Regions from separate parts of the Homo sapiens genome. Here region 2 is linked to region 1. Evidence: promoter capture Hi-C in human tissues and cell types (Jung and others, 2019). All regions are on one chromosome and are shown on one strand. The core of a region is centred on a gene start or on the middle of the fragment in contact, and the rest is flanking DNA. Distances in the headings are between cores, read along the strand shown. Region 1 holds the start of PTS (6-pyruvoyltetrahydropterin synthase). Region 2 overlaps NCAM1 (neural cell adhesion molecule 1).

Region 1 (3,205 bases), core at 216-2,715:
TTTTTTTGAGATCCTCTTTATTATTCCCCCCAATGTAGTTTGGATGTTTGTCCCCTCCAATTGTCATGTTGAAATGTGATCCCCAGTGTTGGAGATGGGGCCTAGTGGGAGATGTTTGGCTCATGGAAGTGGATCCCTTATGAATGGCTTGGTGCCCTCCCTGAAGCAATGAGTGAGTTCTCGCTCTATTAGTCAATGGGCGAGCTGGTTGTTAAAAAAAGCCTGGCACCTCCTCTCCTCTCTCTTGCTCCCTCACTTGCCCTGTGAGTTGCCTGCTTGCTCGCCCTTCGCCTTCCACCATGAGTGGAAGGTCCCTGAGGCCTCAACAGAAGCAGATGCTGGTGCCATGCTTCTTGTACAGCCTGCAGAACCAAATAAACCTCTTTTCTTTATAAAATACCAGTCTCAGTATTCCTTTGTGGCAATGCAAAATGGAATAACACACCCCCACTTTCTCCTGCTCAGCCACTTCTTGTATTTAGAGTGCTAAAGTCTTTTGCACAAAATTTTCTCAGTGTACCCTCCACAAAATAGGCCAGATTGGAAACCCCATACAAGATCCCTGATGCATCCGTTACCTAGCACAAGCCCTGACAAGCACGAAACAAAACCTGGTTTAGCGAATGGAGGGATGAATCCTGTTAGATAGCGATGGTCATCCTCATTTCACAGACGACGATACGGAGGGCCAGAGGGTGGAGCTGGTTAGTGCGTGGTAAAATTCCTCAAAATCAACTCGTCAGTGCATGCAAGCAGTATGTATGATCGGGATTCAAATCCCAACTATGCTGCTTCGGAAACTGAACGTCTGGGCTCATTTTTTTTTTTTTTTCTCCTAGCCACTAGACCACCAGGGACTGGGTTCATCCAGTCTTTGGTAAAAAAGGGGCTAAAATTTGCCTTGTAATTACATTAGATATGGTGGCCAATGCTCCTGGCATACAAGATTAGCTAACATTTACTGAGTGTCTACGCCGCGCCAGGTACTGTGTAACATAGGCGAGTTTAACACTGCTGAGTTTCACAGCAACCCTGTGGTCTACACCAAGGGACTCCTAGGGGCAGAGACGTTTCTTCGAGTCGCAGAACCGGGTGTGGGCCCCGCACCCAGACGTGGGCCATCGCCCTCCGCAGTCGGCTCCGTTAACCATCAAGCTCCCCCACCCCTCCAGGGCTGGGGACACTCCAGCCCCCATCAGGATGCTGGAGGCCGTCCGAAGCCCCACGAAGCCGACCAGCGCGCGTCGCCCCAGCAGCCCCCGCGCCCCTCCCGGGCCCGACGTCAGCACGCCCGCCGGCCCCGCCCCGGTGACGTTCCGGGGCCCGGCGCCCACCGCCCGCCGCTGTACCTGTGTGCACACCCTACCTGTACAATCGGTGGCTCGCGCTGAAGGAGATGCGGCGGGACACTTGTGCCTGGCAGCGACGGCCACCACCTTCCGTGCTCATCTTCCCGGCGCTGTCTGCGGTGCTCGGCCGGCACCTCCTCCCGCCGCGCGGCCGGTGCCTCCTCCCACCGCGGCTGCGCAGTGCGTGCCAGACGCGCCCCTAGGAAGTGCGTCTCCGCTTCCGCTCTGGCCAATCCCGGCCTCGGGAGACAGTTAAGGGTGTCTCTCGCTATCTGAATCTCTTCGGAGAGCAAGATTTGGGATACCTAAGCATACCCTGGAGTGGTCAGGGTGGGTGGGGACCCTGTGTCCTTGATCTGTTTGCCCCGCCTGAGGTCACGCCACGTAGTTAGGGCCCGTCTGGGCACACTTTGGGTCCTGAGTGACCTCTCTGAGCCTCCTCTCCCACTCTCTCCTGTAAAGCTCCAGTGACTGGTGACTCAATCGGATGAACCCCAGGGCCACAGTCCGCTTTATAGACCAAAAGGAGCAGGAATTGAGCCAGGCGGGCGTGGTGACGCACTCCTGTAGCCCCAGCTATTGAGAAGGAGAGGGATCACTTCAGCCCAGGAGTCCAACCTGGGCAATAGAGCAAGACCCTCGTTTCTCTTTTTCTTTTTTCTTTTTAATTATTATTATACTTTAAGTTCTAGGGTACATGTGCACAACGTGCAGGTTTGTTACATAGGTATTCATGTGTTATGTTGGTTTGCTGCACCCATCAACTCGTCATTTACATTAGGTATTTCTCCTAATGCTATCCCTCCCCCAGCCCCCTACTCCCTGACAGGCACCGGTGTGTGATGTTCCCCACCCTGTGTCCATGTGTTCTCATTGTTTGATTCCCACCTATGGGTGAGAACATGCAGTGTTTGGTTTTCTGTCCTTGTGATAGTTTGCTGAGAATGATGGTTTCCAGCTTCATCCATGTCCCTGCAAAGGACATGAATTCATCGTTTTTATGGCTGCATAATATTCCATGGTGTACATGTGCCACATTTTCTTAATCCAGTCTATCATTAATGGACATTTGGGTTGGTTCCAAGTCTTTGCAATTGTGAATAGTGCCACAATAAACATACAGGTGCATGTGTCTTTAAAGTAGCATGATTTATAATCCTTTGGGTATATACCCAGTAATGGGATGGCTGGGTCAAATGATATTTCTAGTTCTAGATCCTTGAGGAATCGTCACACTGTCTTCCACAATGGTTGAACTCATTTACACTCCCACCAACAGTGTAAAAGCATTCCTATTTCTCCACATCCTCTCCAACATCTGTTGTTTCCCAACTTTTTAATGATCGCCATTCTAACTGGTGTGAAATGGTATCTCATTGTGGTTTTGATTGGCATTTCTCTGATGGCCAGTGATGATGAGCATTTTTTCATGTGTCTGTTGGCTGCAGAAATGTCTTCTTTTGAGAAGTGTCTGTTCATATGCTTTGCCCACTTTTTGATGGGGTTGTTTGATTTTTTTTCTTATAAATTTGTTTAAGTTCTTTGTAGATTCTGGATATTAGCCCTTTGTCAGATGGGTAGATTGCAAAAATTTTCTCCCATTCTGTAGGTTGCCTGTTCACTCTGATGGTAGATTCTTTTGCCGTACAGAAGCTCTTTAGTTTAATTAGATCCCTTTTGTCTATTTTGGCTTTTGTTGCCATTGCTTTTGGTGTTGTAGTCATGAAGTCCTTGCCCATGCCTATGTCCTGAATGGCATTGCCTAGGCTTTCTTCTAGGGTTTTTATGGTTTTCGGTCTGATATTTAAGTCTTTAATCCATCTTGAGTTAATTTTTGTGTAAGGTGTAAGGAAGGG
Region 2 (3,205 bases), core at 204-2,703, 750 kb before region 1:
ATTATTGTGTGAAATGTTTATATTCTCAAAAATAATGCATATGTCTAACTTGGCTATAAAGGAATACAAATAATAAAAATATTCTTTTTATAAGAAGGAAGGCAGGCGAATGAACTGCCTTCATGACCAGTTATCTTAATTGAGTCTGACTGGTAATTTAAATTCTGATTCCAAAGCCAATTTAGTTCAAAATGACCTCAAATGGTAACCTAGGGCAGTTAACTGACTCACTTTCAATCCCTTATCTTCAAAGAAAATCACATAATGTCCCTTTTTTACTTCATTATGACAGATGGTTTTCTTTGATGAAAATTTTAAATTTTAAACGTGATGAGTAACTTTCACTTACACACACAAAAGGAAAAAAATGCTGAGAAAATAACAAATAACTCTTATTTATCATTTTCTGACATTTCAAGATTGTCTTTTGTGTCATTCCACAGGCATAAATATTACAAGTATAAACAAAAAACTTTTTGAACGTGGTCTAGAATTTTTCACAAAGCTGAATGGTATTCATCTTTCACCTCCAATTCCTAGACCAACTACATAGAATACGGGAGTTATTTCATAAATACTGGATTAAGTCAATGTTTCTAGTGGACATTTAACTACCCAACAAGTCTGAGACATGGCCACTTGCCAATGTGTTCATAAAATTGTTCTTGTTCTGATTTGCAAAATCACTGCCAAGTCCACGTCTTTCTATCAAAGAAATGTGGAATCTCAGGCCACCTTGGAATCTCTTGAGAATGCTTCAGTTCAGAAAAGTTTCCTCAAAACTCTTTAAATTGTCAATCCCTTGAAGTTGTCTGAACATTCCTCTGTTCGGGTTTTTGCCTTTGATGCACCCCTAGAGCATGTCCCTTTTCCTTTAAGAACTGCAAGCTTCTTTCAGTCTCAACGATCCTACCCTAAAACGTGCAAGATAAAAGACTTCAAAAAAGATTTTAAAAGCCCGCTTTGGACTTTAGCAATTAGAAACCCTGAAGGAGATAGGTCATCAGTGGGTTCTGAGTCTGCTCCAAAATTAAAGTCAATAGAGCCTCTGATACCACTAATTCAAACACACACACACATACATACACACACACACACACACACAAACTGTAAGCTACAGGAGGGTGGCAGCCATATGTCTCTTCTCCCATACTCCCCTCACCTCAGCAGAAGGCTCAATTTTTATAAATAGAGAGATTGAACCAGATGCACTTTGTCCTTGCATATACCAGACTTTGTTGAGGGCAGAAGCACCCTACTGAAAATAGGAGAATTAAATGAAGTCTAGACTACAGAAGAAAAAATTACCCCCAATCCATTTCTTATTCAGCTTAGAGAAAAATAGTAGTTGGACTTATACCGTGCCTGCTGCAAAATTTTGGATTCTCTTAAGTCAATCAGTCCAAAAGAAAATGTAAGTACTCATGAATATACATGGATGTCCCCCACCCAATAAACCAAGTTTCTGCACAGTCTTTCAGTGTGTGACATCCCACACTGAGCCCCACAGCTCTTCAGGGTCTCACTCTTTACTAATAGGCAGCCAGGGATCATTAGAATTTGAGGAGTTAAATGAAACAACATGAAACACAAAAGGAGATACAACAGCAAACATAATAAAGAGGAATTCAGACAAAAAGAGACAAGAAGCAAGAGAAATGTTATGAACTCCTCAGCGATATGAAAGATATTGCATCAAGAAAGAAAAAGATGCTATGCTAGCTCTTCAGAGGCCTCTTTCCGTTACTTCTTCATTCTTCATGTTTCAAAGAATCAGGGTTGCCAGGTAAGTGACTTCCAGATTAAGTGACTTCCAGATTAATGAAGTGTCACCAATATGATCTTTAGCAGCAACCATTATTTAAATACACTAAATTTTATGGCTCAACCATTATAGTGAATTGACAGATTTGATATTAACCCTATGCAAATGGAAAGGAGAATCTAGATAAACCACTTTTAATTTTTTAACTATTACTTTTGTCAAAATCAAGATCTACTAGGCTTTGCTTTCATAGGAGGTAAAACAGCTCCACAATGAAGCATGGCATTTCCAACTCAGTTGCAATTCACAGTGATCCTGAACTCTCAGAACATGAAAAATAAATGGAAAATGTGATTCTCATTAGAATCAATACTTAAATCCAACGCGAATTGTATATCCCTTCACTGTGAACTTTAGCAGAAAGAAAGGATATGGGAAAAAATTGCTGAGCTCACTATGTGCCAGACAGTTGTATAAACTACCTCATTTCATCCTCACAATAACCCTATTAGTTAGGTATTATCCCTGATTCACAGATAAATAAACTGACCGTTGGAGATTAAATAACTGGCTCAAGGTCATGAAAAGCAGGAGAGTCACAGTTCGAAATGTGGGTTTGATACCAAAGGTCCATGGGGCACCCTGTGCAGTATGCACTGCCTCCAACACCAAAAGGAGATACTAAATTCAGAAAGAAAGAAAGATAATTTATAATTATGTACCCAAACCAAAGAGCTTTCATTGGATTTCCATCTTCTTATGCCCTTGATAACAGGCCTTTAAGGCTGCTTAAAGTACACCTTTATGGAGTACTGTAAGTCCAATTCTCATATAGCAATTGCAGCTTAACTGGTGACTGGCAGCCTCTCATGTGAACAGAATGGACACTCAAATTGAAAATGACTAAACGAACATTAGAAAAGTAATCAATCACTCCTGTGCTGATCTGATAAAAACAGCACATCCAATTTGTGACATGCAGAACAAGCTTCAAAAGATTTTGCTATAGAAACATTTTTTAAAGGTCTAGAAATAAATGTATGAACACCACAGGCAATGAGGTAAGAAGACAAAACTGAATCTAAAAATAATCAACTCATATGATAAATGAAGTCACTGGGGAAAACCCTTAACTTTATTCATTTCCTCTGGCATAAAATTGTCCTGTTGTCCTTTGCAAAGGTTGCTCATCACCTCTCCCCTCCCTCTGGCTCTTTTCCGTGGTGATGCATAGTTCAATGCGCCCAGGAAGCTTCATGATGAGGCCGTCACCCAAACTAGCAGCCCTCCTTTCCTTCTTTCTTTGCCAAGTGTCCTGGACATCAGCTCTTCCTCAGTCTTTGACTCTAAATAAAGAACTTGAATTTCACCATTCAACTGAAATCCCTCTGACATCACTACTCTCCTCTGACACAAATCCCAAGTTTCTACTTAATTCTC

The links. Contacts are between HindIII fragments. The study calls those that stand out against the background at their distance.
Region 2: a contact is called between a fragment that was not itself captured here and the fragment with the promoter of PTS in region 1, in 1 of the 25 tissues and cell types used here (dorsolateral prefrontal cortex).

Annotation. Positions count from the first base shown.
Region 1 is chr11:112,224,688-112,227,892 of GRCh38, reverse strand. PTS (6-pyruvoyltetrahydropterin synthase) reads right to left here and starts at 1,465. Exons shown (of 6, transcript NM_000317.3): 1 at 1,367-1,465. The coding sequence starts at 1,449. RefSeq lists silencers at 533-827, 1,185-1,594. The HindIII fragment of the contact is 11,416 bases long and covers 1-3,205 here.
Region 2 is chr11:112,972,712-112,975,916 of GRCh38, reverse strand. The region is part of intron 1 of NCAM1 (neural cell adhesion molecule 1); the gene reads right to left. Among named protein-coding and RNA genes, the nearest start is that of NCAM1-AS2, 11 kb to the right of the region's middle. The HindIII fragment of the contact is 3,946 bases long and covers 1-3,205 here.